5 separate regions of the Homo sapiens genome follow, and regions 1, 2, 3 and 4 are each linked to region 5. Evidence: promoter capture Hi-C in 16 types of primary human blood cells and fetal thymus (Javierre and others, 2016). All regions are on one chromosome and are shown on one strand. The core of a region is centred on a gene start or on the middle of the fragment in contact, and the rest is flanking DNA. Distances in the headings are between cores, read along the strand shown. Region 1 overlaps BORCS5 (BLOC-1 related complex subunit 5). Region 2 has its middle 19 kb from the start of MIR613. Region 3 overlaps CDKN1B (cyclin dependent kinase inhibitor 1B). Region 4 overlaps MANSC1 (MANSC domain containing 1). Region 5 holds the start of DUSP16 (dual specificity phosphatase 16).

Region 1 (2,700 bases), core at 167-2,666, 180 kb before region 5:
ATAAAGACCATTGTAGGGGAATTCATTGGCCTGATTTCAATATTATTGTATTTCAGGGAGTAGGTCCAAGGAGAGGGTGATAGCCGGGGGAATGATTGGTCCGTGAAGCAGTCAGAGCACATGCAACACTTCTCAGTTTAAGTTTCCTGTTTTCTATGGGTGTGGTTTGTGGTGCCCAAAACAATTACAATAGTGACATCAAAGATCACTGATCACAGATCACCATGACAGATATCATAATAATGGAAGTTTGAAATATTGCAAGAATTACCAAAATGTGACAGACATGAAGTAAGCACCCTGCCACAAATCTTCAATTTGTAAAAAAAAACACAGTATCTGTGAAGCACAATTTAAAAAAAATTTGAAGTGGAATAGAATGAGGTGTGCCTATATATGGAAGATGGCTTGATCTAATCAGAGATAAAAAGAGATGAATGAGGACCATATCAAAATTATTTCCAGTTTGCAGTTAATTCTGCTCCCAGTCTCCAGTCCTAGGCAACCACAGGCCAGCTTTTCTGGACACTTCATCTAAATGGAATCATACAATACATACTCTTTTGAGTCTGACTTCCAGTTTTTGCCTGTTATGAATAATGCTGCTATGAACCTTTGTGACCATGTGTTCATGTGAATGTGTTTTTATTTCTTTTGGGTGGATTCTTAGGAACGGAATTGGTAGGTTGTATGGTAACTTTGTGTTTACTTTTACGAAACTGCCAAACTTTTTTCAAAATTACCATTTTACATTCCTTCCAGCAATGTATGAGAATTCAGTATTCTCTTTATTTCTGATTATAGCCATCAGAGTGGTTGTGTAGTGGTATCTCATTATGGTTTACATTTACATTTCTCTAATGATGTTGAGATTATTTTTGTGTGCTTGAAATACCTGTTCAAATCTCTTATCCATTTTTAAATTGGGTTTTTAACTTATATTGTATTATAACAAGTTCTTTATTCTGGATACAATCTCTTAATCAGATATATGATTTGCAGTATTTTCTCCCAGACTGTGACTTTCTTTTCATTTTTTGGGGGATTTTTTTTTTTTTTTTTTGAGACCGAGTCTCACTCTGTCGCCCAGGCTGGAGTGCACTGGCGCGATCTCAGCTCACTGCAAACTCCACCTCCTGGGTTCAAGCAGTTCTCCTGCCTTAGCCTCCCAGGTAGCTGGGATTACGGGTGCCTGGCTCATTTTTGTGTTTTTAGTAGAGACAGGCTTTCACCATGTTGGCCAGGCTGGTCTGGAACTTCTGACCTGGCTGATATTTTTTGAAGTACAACTTTTTTAATCTTGATGAAGTTCAGTGTATCAATATTTTTAATAAAGATTTCTCCTAGAAGTTTTATAGTTTTAGTGATTGCATTTAGGCCTGTGATCCTTTTTGGATTACTTTGTGTGTGTTGTGTAAAGGTCTAAGTTCATTTTGCTTTGTTTGTTTGCTTGTGGTATCCAGTTGACCCTGTACCATATGTTGAAAAGATTGTGTTTTCCCTTATTGAATTATCTCAGCACCTTTAAAAAATGACCATAAATGTAAGGGTTTATTTCTGGACTCTTAGGTCTGTTCCATTGATCTGTCCCATTTTTAATTTCGTGGATTGTACTTTGGTGTTGTATCTAAAAAGTCATCACCAAATCCATGCTTACCTAGATTTTCTCTTGTATTACTGCTTAGGACTTTCATAGTTTTGCATTTTACATTTAGGTCTGCGATCCATTTTGACTTAATTTTTGTGAAAGGTATAAACCATATGTGCTTTTAAAGACTATATAGTCTGCAGTCATTGGGTAGAGAGTTTTATATATGTCAGTTATGTTGGTTGATAGTGTTTTTTGAGTTTTGTATATTCTTACTGATTTTGTCTTTAGTTTTATCAATTGAGAGTGAGGTACTGAATTATTAACCTGTTTTGTTGAATTGTGTATTTTTCCTTTTGATTCTGTCAGTTTTTCCTTCATTTGTTTTGAGGATATGTTGCTGGTGTGGATACATTTAGAATTATTATATCTTCATGATGTAACAACTTTCATCATTATGAAACACCGTTCTCTAATATTACTCTCTGTCTTTATTTCTATTTTATCTAATATTAATAGAGCCATTTGTGTTAGTCCACTTTGAGTTGCTATAAAGGAATACCCGAGGCTGGGTAATTTATAAAGAAGAGAGGTTTATTTGGCTCACAGTTCTGCAAGCTGTATAAGAAGTGTGGCACCAGCATCTGCTTCTGGTAAGGACCTCAGAAAACTTTCAATCATGGAGGAAGGTGAAGGAGGAGCAGGCATGTCACATGGTAAGAGAGGGAGACAGAGGTGGGGGAGGTGCCACACTCCTTTAAACAACCAGTTCTCCCATAAACTAATAGAGGGAGACTTGCTCGGTACTACAGGGAGGCACCAAGCCATTCTTGAGGGATCTGCTCTTATGACTCATACATCTCCCACTAGACCCCACCTCCAACATTAGGGGCCACATTTTAACATGAGATTTGGAGGGGACAAGTATCCAAATGATATCACTATTCTGTCTTTCTTATGGTTCTATGATGGTATATATCTTTTTTTTTTTTTTTTTTGAGACAAAGTCTTGCTCGACAGGCTGCTGAAGTGCAGTGGCGCGATCTCAGTTTCCTGCAACCTCTGCCTCCTGGGTTCAAGTGATTTTCCTGCCTCAGCCTCCCAAGTAGCTG
Region 2 (2,700 bases), core at 37-2,536, 180 kb after region 5:
CAAGATATTAAATTGATGATGGCTGGGCGTGGTGGCTCATGCCTGTAATCCCAACACTTTGGGAGGCTGAGGCTGGTGGATCACTTGAGGTCAGGAGTTTGAGACCAGCCTGGGGAACATAGCAAGACTGCGTTTCTACTAATAAAAAATTAGCAAGGAACGGTGTGCACCTGTAGTCCCAGCTACTCGGGAGGCTGAGGCAGGAGGATCACTTGAGCCTAGGAGATCAAGGCTGCAGTGAGCTATGATGGCACCACTGTACTCCAGCCTGGGCAATAGAGCCAGACCCTGCTTAAAAAAAAAAAAAAAAAATGGCTGGCTGTGGTGGCTCAGGTCTGTAATCCCAGCACTGTGGGCGGCTGAGGTGGGCAGATCACCTGAGGTCAGGAGTTCGAGACCAGCCTGGCTAACATGGTGAAACCCCATCTCTACTAAAATTACAAAAATTAACTGGGCCTGGTGGTGCACACCTGTAATCCCAGCTACTCAGGAGGCTGAGGCAGGAGAATCGCTTGAACCTGGGAGGCGGAGGTTGCAGTGAACAGAGATCGCACCACTGCACTCCATATCAAAAAACAAAGAACTGCTTGGTTTCTGATTTCTCAGCTCTCAACTCTAGGCAGGTGATTTATTTGTCCACTTAAGAGATGGGAATTGGACACTGCCGCTGGGATCAGTTCTGATCCTGACTATAAATTTCCGGGGTGCTCTGCCTTAGAACTTGGTTTATTGCCTATTAAGCTGCTTTCCTGTTGCCTGTGCTCAGTGTCTGTCTGGCTCCTGGCCTCCTCTTGCCAGGTGATTTGGCCTCATTCTGAACCTGTTTTATGTAGAGTGTCTGTCTGCCCGACTTCATGGGGCAGATCACAGAACAAGATCCCTGTGCCACGATCTGCTTTCCCTTCACCAAATATCACTATGAACTTGTGCCTACCTGGATCCCATACTTGCTTCACCCTGACAAAGCTTTTTCTTCTCTCTACTTCTGGCCTGCTTTGAATTTATTGTTTTATGCCTGTGTGTTAGAGGGAAAAATGTATTAAAATAATGTACTGGCAATACCTCCCTTCCTGTCTAAAAAAAGTGAATGCTTTGTGTACTCATCTCCCTAGAGGGCCTTTGTTGAATTAAGCAGGGTGATTGGCTGTGAGGAGAATTAAAAGGCAGAGAGAAGACCAAATTGCTCTACCCAACACAAAATGAGGAGATATTTGAAAGAGAATTTTACAAGGAGAAGACTGAAGAAGGCCGGGCGAGGTGGCACACGCCTGTAATCCCAGTACTTTGGGAAGTTGAGGCGGGTGGATCACCTGAGGTCAGGAGTTCGTGACCAGCCTGGCCACTAAACTCTACTAAAAATACAAAAACTAGCTGGGCCTGGTGGCAGGTGCTTGTAATCCTAGCTACTCTGGAGGCTGAGGCTGGAGAATCGGTTGAATCAGGGAGGTGGAAGTTGCGGTGGGCCAATATCGTGCCACTGCGCTCCAGCCTATGCAATAGAGCGAGACTGTCTCAGAAAAGAAAAGACTGAAGAGAAGAGGAAGGAGACATAAGTGAGCTGTACAATTTTTGAGCAAAGAAAGAAACCCAAAGAATATTTTAATGGAAAGCTTCCTATATTGCGTGTAGTGTAACATTCTCTTTGCCTCTCTAAGCATCCAGTACACGTTGAATTTGTGGTAGATTAGGTGTATTAAGTGCTGAGATTGGCCTCAAGGCAAGGGCAGGATGACTCAGAATAGCACAAATAGTTTCAGGTGGGAAGGGGGAGGAAAAAGGGAAGCAAAAGGCAAGGAAAATGCCAAGTGGTCTTGCCTACAGCAGATCTTTCAGCCCGCATGCTTGCTCTGTACTTGGAATTCTCTAGAAAGGTTGCAAGAAGAAGCTGCACTCCAGAGTAGTCTGAGAAAGGGATCAGGAAGAGGGCATTTATCTGCCAGCTCCCTCCTGTCTCCATTTTTTGTGGCTGAGGTTCACACTACTTAGCAGAGCTAAATCCCCTGAATGCCATGTGGTGTCATCTGGCAGCTCCGTGATCACTCAGGAAATTAATTTTACGCCTTGCAGTGTGGCTATTTCATCCGAGTCTGGAAGTGAGGAGTGACCAAGAGAGAACAAAAGGAAGGGTGGTGGGAATCCAAGAAGGCTTAAAACGTATGTCTCTGTAGTTGAGAAAAGGTTTTACTTAAATCCTGTTCCAGGCCGGGTGCAGTGGCTCACGCCTGTAATCCCAGCACTTCGGGAAGCCGAGGCGGGTGGGTCACCTGAGGTCAGGAGTTCGAGACCAACCTGGCCAACATGGTGAAACCCTGTCTCTACATAAAATACAAACATTAGCTGCGTGTGGTGGCAGATGCCTGTAATCCCAGCTACTCAGGAGGCTGAGGCAGGAGAATCGCTTGAACCTGGGAGACGGAGGTTGCAGTGAGCCGAGATCGCACCACTGCACTCCAGCCTGGGCAACAAGAGTGAAACTCCATCTCAAATAAATAAATAAATAAATACATAAATACATACATACATATTGCTCCAAATGGTGAACATGTGCATGACTACGTGTATGAACTCTGATGTCTTCATAAAGAATTTTAAAAAACTATTGGAAAACATGGGAAAACATGCTCTAATTTTTTTTAAATTTCATATTCAGGGAGGTACATGCACAGGTTGTACATGGGTATATTGCATGATGCTGAGGCT
Region 3 (2,700 bases), core at 163-2,662, 160 kb after region 5:
TCAAAAAAGTAGCAATGGGGAAGGCTGGGGATACGGTAATTCCTCAGAGTTTCTATGCCCAGAGATACTTTCTCTTCAAACTGTTGACCAGAGCAGCTACTTGTAACCCAGGCCCCATCGGGTAGGAAGGTCGTTTCCCTGTGAGTCCCACTAAAACGTGTTGGGAGCAATAGGTTCTTTGCCCATCCGAACAAGAACTAGGGTACTCCCTCAGTCCGAATTAATGAGAATTAATTTCCTAGAGGTTCAGCTTGAGTCGGTAACAGATTTTGAGCCATACATGGAAAAATGGCAAATACATGATTAAGTTTCAATTTTGAGGGGGAATGTTTGGTAGAAATTGCTCATCTTTGGTTATGCAAGGGATTAGAGATGTGAATAGGATGGTATGTTGTGTTCTTTGACATTTTAATAAACTGTCACTTTCCCTGTTGTCTCCTAAGTTTGGAGAGAGAAGGAACCAGTATTTGCAAAAACCAAATGGAAAGATAAAAAAGTTACTAAAGTTTCTACAGAATTTCTGGTAACACTGAAGTTGCAAAGCAGAAGTTAAATTAACTCTTGTCAGTAAGCAATCCAGGAACACGTCAGCCAGTGTATGCTAATTGTGCCGTAACAGGGTGATTTGGATATTTGTAGGGGAAATGGGTAGTAAATATCAAGACTGGTGACCGTAGGTCAGCCCAGCACAAAGGAAGTGGAGATTTTTCCATGCACAAGAATCTGATCACTGTAAATAGCTAATTTGAATAATTCAGTCCCCAGATAACCAACATGGGTTGGTTATTCATAATAAACTACATATTTTAATAGTTTATTAGCTTCCTTTAGACCAAGACTGTGACCTCTTTATTTTCTAAAGCACACACGTAGTTTAGCATATGAGGCGATAAAATATTGATGTTAACTTTTTAAATCCCCAGTTATAAAAATTTTAAAATAACAGGGATTAAGGTGAGATTCAGGTTTGTTGTGTCTTTAAATTGTATATGTGACTTCACATATCTTTTTCAGCGCTTATACAAAACGGCACTATAGAACCTCCATTTTACAGCACCATATGAAGTGGGAAAATTAGGTGAAAATTTTCCTGAAGCAACCTTAACATGCGCAGCCCTTGTTGGTTTGTGACTTGTGGCCTAGCTCATCAGATGAGCCACGAGAATCAGACCTGGATTTTGATCTGGCCCTGTTCTGACATGCAATGAGGCATTTGTAGGATTTAGTAATATTGCTAGTTCAAAGAATACTAGAAATATTAGTAAGAACCTATTCAAAAGTATTCATGAGTATTTTCTGCATATGAATCAGGAATTAGAATATTTTGAAAATGATGTTAATAAAATTTTCCTCTGGAAGGCCTTTATAATTTTTATTCCCAATCATTTTTCAAATTTAGAAAGTTTAATCTGTCACAGGAGAAAAAAAATTAAAAATTTTCAAAAATTTAGAAAATTTTTACCCGTAAGTATTACAGTTTCCTAATTATCCTATTTATTTCCCACTTGCCTTTGACCTAGATTATTTAGAGTAGGGTTTCTCAGCCTCTGCACTAATGACATTTTGGGCCGAATAATTCTGTTGTAGGAGGCTGTCCTGTGTGTTTTAGATTGTTTGGAATTATCCCTGGCCTCTCACACTAGATGCCAGCAGTATCCTCCTCCCCCAGTGTGACAACCTAAAATGTCTCCAGACATTGCCAAATGTTCCCTGTGGGGCGGGGGCAACATTGCCTACTGTTAAGAACTACTGCTCTAGACCAAAGAACACAGCACAGAGGAAAGGAAAAAAAAATCCAGTTAAGAGAATGTTAGGTGGAGATGACTATAGTCATCAAACTTTTTTCCCCATCAAGTATTTCCAAGCTAACATAGTGACAAAATAATTCCTGTACTCTACTGGTAACGTTAATCTAGTGCTCTTCCTTTAATTCTTCCGTTTTGTTTTCTTTTGCAGAATTAAGAATATGTTTCCTTGTTTATCAGATACATCACTGCTTGATGAAGCAAGGAAGATATACATGAAAATTTTAAAAATACATATCGCTGACTTCATGGAATGGACATCCTGTATAAGCACTGAAAAACAACAACACAATAACACTAAAATTTTAGGCACTCTTAAATGATCTGCCTCTAAAAGCGTTGGATGTAGCATTATGCAATTAGGTTTTTCCTTATTTGCTTCATTGTACTACCTGTGTATATAGTTTTTACCTTTTATGTAGCACATAAACTTTGGGGAAGGGAGGGCAGGGTGGGGCTGAGGAACTGACGTGGAGCGGGGTATGAAGAGCTTGCTTTGATTTACAGCAAGTAGATAAATATTTGACTTGCATGAAGAGAAGCAATTTTGGGGAAGGGTTTGAATTGTTTTCTTTAAAGATGTAATGTCCCTTTCAGAGACAGCTGATACTTCATTTAAAAAAATCACAAAAATTTGAACACTGGCTAAAGATAATTGCTATTTATTTTTACAAGAAGTTTATTCTCATTTGGGAGATCTGGTGATCTCCCAAGCTATCTAAAGTTTGTTAGATAGCTGCATGTGGCTTTTTTAAAAAAGCAACAGAAACCTATCCTCACTGCCCTCCCCAGTCTCTCTTAAAGTTGGAATTTACCAGTTAATTACTCAGCAGAATGGTGATCACTCCAGGTAGTTTGGGGCAAAAATCCGAGGTGCTTGGGAGTTTTGAATGTT
Region 4 (2,700 bases), core at 13-2,512, 230 kb before region 5:
TCCCGGCCTCAAGCAATTATCCTACCTCAGCCTCCCAAGTAGCTGGGATTACAGGTGTCTGCCACCATGCCTGGCTAATTTTTGTATTTCTGTAGAGATGGGGTTTCACCATGTTGGCCAGGCTGGTCTAGAACTCCTGACCTCAGGTGATCCACCCACCTTGGACTCCCAAAGTGCTGGGATTACAGGCGTGAGCCACCACGCCTGGCCAAGAGTAGCTTTTTAACCTAGGTCAGTATCGTGTTGGTAAAATACGGAGAGAGGATGTTTGAGCAGAAGGACCTACCTCATCTTCTCACCTGTTCTAGGCTGCTACCTTCTCTTTCTACAAACCAAAGGAGGGGGCTCATAACTCAATGGGCCTTGTGGGAAAGGCTAACCAGACTAGTCACTGCTGAATTCCTCTAAGGGATTCCCCTACCCTGACTGCCCTTGCCACAGTTGCACCCACCATCCTAGGGGCAGTAAGTAGAGAGAGCTGTGTGAGAAGAGCACTCTTTCCACTCCAGATGTCCCCTACAACCTATATCCTCACGGCCACTAACAGTTTGGGCCCGTAGCATCACTCATCTGGACCGCTCCCATGTGGTCTCCCCATCACAACAAAGACTGCAGCAAGGTGGACAGAGAACTCCAAGAGAGCCAGGAAAATACCTTTATAAACCATCACAGAAAGCCTGATTTCCACTCGCTAAATCCATTAATAAAGAGAGGAGAAATTTTAAAATTCCAAGGCACCTGGTTACTAATCTGATTCTGGCCTACATGTGGATATTCAATAAATACTTGTTAAGTTAAATTGACTCAAGGTTTTATTTATTCAGCCTACTTAAAGCTTATGTAAACCCCTTGGAGATTTGTGTCAAGCTGTTAAGTTGGAAAATATAAGAAAAGTAGTATTTTCAATAGACCAGCTTTCCTCTTAATGTACTTTATGAACTTAGTGTAAACCAGGGAAATGGGGGAGGGGTACCAGAAGAGCAGAGGGGAAGGAGGTGAGGAGGAAGGAAGAGGTGAGGAGGAAGGAGAAGAAAAGCCTTTTCTGTCATTTCCTGCATTTGTCTTAATTGCTGTACTTATTAACCAGCTACTGCCCTCTAGTGCTCACTGTATTAAGTTCGCATCTGAATTCCATTTTTATCTTTAAAAACTCTGGTGACACTTGGAAGGGATCAAATTTCCTGTTTTGCAGATAAGCAAATTGAAGTCCAGAGGAAAGAGGTATCAAACTGACCCAGGGGACTTCTGGACTCTTTGTTACCTCACCTATAACTTGTCTGGAAAACTTTATTAAAAGCCTTTCTCAGAAATTTTAATTGGTAACCAGTAAAAATTGTAGCATCATGTTAGTGCTAGTTATTATTATTATTATTTTTGAGACGGAGTCTGGCTCTGTTGCCCAGGCTGGAGCGCAATGGTGCAATCTGGCTCACCGCAACCTCCGCCTCCTGGATTCAAACTACTCTCCTGCCTCAGCCTCCCAAGTAGCTGGAACTACAGGCGCCCGCCACCACGCCCGGCTAATTTTTTGTATTTTTAGTAGAGGCGGGGTTTCACCGTGTTAGCCAGGATGGTCTCGATCTCCTGACCTCGTGATTTGCCCATCTCGGCCTCCCAAAGTGCTGGGATTACAGGCGTGAGCCACCGCGCCTGGCCTGTGCTAGTTATTATTTCCAATGTTGTTCTAAATTAAGCTTAGACTGATTGCTGGTCAATTTAAGTAAGGATATAAAATAATAGTGGTACATTTTTAACTTAGTACAAGTTTAGAAAATGTCTATAATACTTCTTTAAAAAGTTAACTAGAGGCCGGGCACGGTGGCTCACGCCTGTAATCCCAGCACTTTGGGAGGCCGAGGCGGGCGGATCACAAGGTCAGGAGATCGAGACCATCCTGACTAACACAGTGAAACCCCGTCTTTACTAAAAATATAAAAAATTAGCTGGGCGTGTTGGCGGGCGCCTGTAGTCCCAGCTACTTGGGAGGCTGAGGCAGGAGAATGGCGGGAACCCAGGAGGCGGAGCTGGCAGTGAGCCGAGATCGCGCCACTGCACTCTAGCCTGGGTGACAGAGCAAGACTCTGTCACACACACACACACACACACACACACACACACACACACACAAGTTAACTAGAACAGATCCCAAGTGGATATGGCCATTTATCAGAACTGACTTATCATTGTCTCCATGTGGGCTAACATTCCGCTAGATTCTCCCAAGTGAAGCTCTTTGCTCACTGATGGGAAAAAGGGGGGGTTGTCATTTTAACGTGGAACGCATATTTTCACCACATAATCATTTTGCTAGTGGAAATAAATGGAAAGTTATCCAGCTGGACATGCTACTTATGAGAACACTACTGAGTAACAAAAGATTTATTCAAATATTTAATTGGAAGGAACTACATCTGGAATAAGTTTTAAAGGAATCCATATAAAAAGAAAAGCAAATCCATTAGAAATTGATATAAACAGTTGATTTTATCTGGAACCAAGAATGTGAATGAATTGGAACCTAGATGTCCTAACCTGTTTCTTTGCATAAAAGCCAGTTGAATTTTGAAATTTATATGGCAATTATACTTTATTACTTTACATAGAGCTTTGTTTTTAGCTAATATTTTAGAGACAGATTACCCAAAATTACCTAATTTGGTTCCCACTTCATTCCTTCTCAAAAACCAAACATAAAACAGA
Region 5 (2,700 bases), core at 1-2,500:
CCGTCACCACCCAGGTGGCCTCGCTGCTTACACCAAAGGCGAACTGGGGATAATGGGAACAGTCAGGCCAGGGCCCCACTTGGCAGGCGTGTTGTGTAACAGTCGCGCCTGGAAGTGAGCAGCTTCGCCCGCAAAGGTGCCGCGTCCCGCGGCGGCCGCTCCTCTCGGCGGGGCCCGGTCCAAGCGCCGCGCAGCGGCCGGGAGCGCACCCACTGCGACCCCGCGCCCGGCCGCACGCCCCCTTCCCGCTCCGGCCAGCCTCCGGCCAGGCCTACACCCCCGCTTCAAACGCTCCTGCGGCCCCCGGCCGCGGTCGCCCCCACGCCGCCTCCCGAAAGGGTGGCCGGTACGCCCGGGAAGGCAGAGACGGCGGGGCTGGAGCGCGGCGCCCGGCACCGGGAGTCGGGGCGCGCTGCGGAGCGTCCATGCGGCCGGGCGGGAGGGCGCCCCGGGCCCCGCACCCTCCCGCCCGCACACCCCGCGCGGCCCGCCAAGGCCACTTACTTTTGGGGCCGCCGACCTCCCAATTCCCTCAGAGGGAAACGAAAGTTGTCACGGCGTCTCCCCTCGGGCCCCCCTCGCCTCCCGGACTTGCGAGGCGCCGCCGCGGAGCCGAGAGGGCGGCTGCGCTCCCGCTCGCGTCCCGTCCCGTCGCTCTCCTCCTCCTCTTCTTTTCAGTATATTATCTTCTCCTTCTCTGAGGGGTGGGTTGGGGCGGGAGGCTTAGGAAGAGAGGAGACGCTCGCAACTTTTCTTCACTCTTTCTCTTCCACCCTCCCCCCCATCAGCCTTCAAAAAAAATGTCGAAAGAGATGAAGAACTTAGGGAGGTAAAGGTGGGGGGCCGCGTTGTGAAAGTGGGGGTTGGGGGGGAGAGAGAGGTGGTAATAATCGTTTAAAAACTGATTAAAGCCCCCCAAACACTGATACATAGAAAGAGGGGGAAAGGCGGGGGGGTGGGGTGGGGGGTTGGGGGAAAGAGAAAGAGTCGCTGGTCAGGAAACTTCAAGCGCGGATGAGGTCATTGGTTTAAAAATAAAGAGATGGCGTCACTTGAAACCAATCCCAGTGAATGAACTCAGCGGAGCCCCGGGGAAAGGAGGAGACAGGCGAGGGCAGGGCGGTGGGCGCCGGGCGGGGCCGCGCGCTCGCCCATCCCGCGGCCGCCCGAGCCCGGAGCGCGGCTCCGCGCCTCGTTCCGGCCGCTCGGGGAGGGGTCAGGTCATGTTCCCTTCCAGAGTCCGGCGACTCTGAGGCAGGTTCCGCGGGCGCCGCTGGGAGGAGCCGGAGCTGCCGGAGGAGGCGGCCCCGCGGCCTCCTCCCCCACCTCTCCCTCCTCCTCCTCCTCCTCCCGCGCCCGCGCGCCCGCCCCCTACCCCCGGGCTCGCGGCCCCGACCCCCGGGCCGGGGTGTCCGCCTCCAGTGCTGCGCCCCAACAGGTATCGGAGGGTTTTCTCCCTCACCCAGACGCAGAACCTTTCCCTCCTCCTTGAGCTGTTTCCAGCTGCCTCACCAACGTCAAAAAACGCAAACACTGATTTGAGAGAATTACACTCGCTCTGTAAAAAGTCTGGCGAATGCAAAAGGCAAGGCTCTGCCATCTCTCAGGAGAGAAGTTACAGGTACTTCAAGAAAAATCACACTACTGTTGTCAGGCATTCAGCTATCTATATGTTTATGGTTGAAAGCCCCCACATAAATGTTCCTACATTACTTTACTTTGCTTATATTTACAAATACAAGGATAAGCAGCCTACATTTTCTTTAAAAATGTTTTCTACAGGAGGCAGCGCAGAAACATCTTTAAATAAGACCAGGGGTTAACCGCCTCTTGAGAGGTACAAAACCCTTGTTGATTTAACTCCACATACCTCGTGCATTTTATTATTTGAATTCATTAAAATGTCTGTTTTGAGATGACATTATGCACTTTGGAAAACGAGAGACCTGAGGTGGTGACAAACCAGGACTTGGAATCACTGAATAGGACAATCGGAGCTTTATTCCAATGTTCTTTGAGCATTTGAGCATGAAGCTGCTTCTACTGAGAAGTACTCACGTGGATATCACATAACAAAGATGTGATTAATGACGGAAAAGCACCCTGCGAGTGGACTGCTCCATGAGCCAGAATTTATGTGTAGGAATAATCTAACTCTTCAAATATTCCATTTACAATGTGCCGGATTGGGACACTAGACCCTAAAGGCACTGTTTGCTGTGGGATATCCATGTGCACCCTGCCTAAAGCACGTTTTTCCACTAGCAAAAGAACTGATAAGCAGGTTTGGGTGGGTTCGAAAGATAATACACCCCTGTTACTACTTTTCTGCCTTTAAGTCCTGCAACTAAAGGCATTCCTTATGATTGGTAATCATTGAAGGTTAGTGTTGCGGGGTATGGCCCTGGGAACTTCTGGCCCATCTTTTATAGGAGGGAAAAAAAAAGCCCATTTGAAGATGGGAGGCACCCTAGCACCTCTGGCAGTAGTAGGTAAAGCCTGAAGGCCACAGATGGAGAAGCAACTTTGAGCCTGTGCCTCTGGCCTCTTGAAGACTTTGCTAGGGGAAGCAAATCTCTCCCACTGCTCCCTGTCCTCTGGTGGCCAGGAGGTGTTACTGCAGCTTCCTTGGGATTATTTGTGCTCTACCAGGAAACCCCTAAAAATCTAACTGTAGACCTTTGTTGGAGGTGTTGGGAT

Evidence for each region. The method cuts DNA at HindIII sites, captures the fragments that hold promoters and counts their contacts. A CHiCAGO score of 5 or more calls a contact.
Region 1: a fragment that was not itself captured here is called in contact with the fragment with the promoter of DUSP16 in region 5 in 17 of 17 cell types (naive CD4 T cells, non-activated CD4 T cells, total CD8 T cells and 14 more); the score reaches 21.3 in naive CD4 T cells.
Region 2: a contact is called between a fragment that was not itself captured here and the fragment with the promoter of DUSP16 in region 5, in 3 of 17 cell types (naive CD8 T cells, non-activated CD4 T cells and total CD8 T cells). The highest score is 6.2, in naive CD8 T cells.
Region 3: a fragment that was not itself captured here is called in contact with the fragment with the promoter of DUSP16 in region 5 in 1 of 17 cell types (naive CD8 T cells); the score reaches 5.6 in naive CD8 T cells.
Region 4: a contact is called between a fragment that was not itself captured here and the fragment with the promoter of DUSP16 in region 5, in 2 of 17 cell types (total CD8 T cells and neutrophils). The highest score is 6.3, in total CD8 T cells.

Annotation. Positions count from the first base shown.
Region 1 is chr12:12,379,967-12,382,666 of GRCh38, forward strand. The region is part of intron 2 of BORCS5 (BLOC-1 related complex subunit 5); the gene reads left to right. Among named protein-coding and RNA genes, the nearest start is that of BORCS5, 24 kb to the left of the region's middle. RefSeq lists an enhancer at 1,229-1,523. The HindIII fragment of the contact is 7,704 bases long and covers 1-2,700 here.
Region 2 is chr12:12,744,014-12,746,713 of GRCh38, forward strand. It overlaps a transcript of APOLD1 not described here. Among named protein-coding and RNA genes, the nearest start is that of MIR613, 19 kb to the right of the region's middle. The HindIII fragment of the contact is 644 bases long and covers 965-1,608 here.
Region 3 is chr12:12,719,080-12,721,779 of GRCh38, forward strand. CDKN1B (cyclin dependent kinase inhibitor 1B) reads left to right here. Exons shown (of 3, transcript NM_004064.5): 3 at 1,957-2,700. Among named protein-coding and RNA genes, the nearest start is that of CDKN1B, 3.1 kb to the left of the region's middle. RefSeq lists enhancers at 343-422, 493-542. The HindIII fragment of the contact is 2,899 bases long and covers 1-2,700 here.
Region 4 is chr12:12,326,900-12,329,599 of GRCh38, forward strand. MANSC1 (MANSC domain containing 1) reads right to left here. Exons shown (of 4, transcript NM_018050.4): 4 at 1-2,700. Among named protein-coding and RNA genes, the nearest start is that of MANSC1, 22 kb to the right of the region's middle. The HindIII fragment of the contact is 859 bases long and covers 834-1,692 here.
Region 5 is chr12:12,561,613-12,564,312 of GRCh38, forward strand. DUSP16 (dual specificity phosphatase 16) reads right to left here and starts at 1,251. Exons shown (of 7, transcript NM_030640.3): 1 at 505-1,251. RefSeq lists silencers at 151-350, 371-490, 521-600, 1,051-1,560. The HindIII fragment of the contact is 13,074 bases long and covers 1-2,700 here.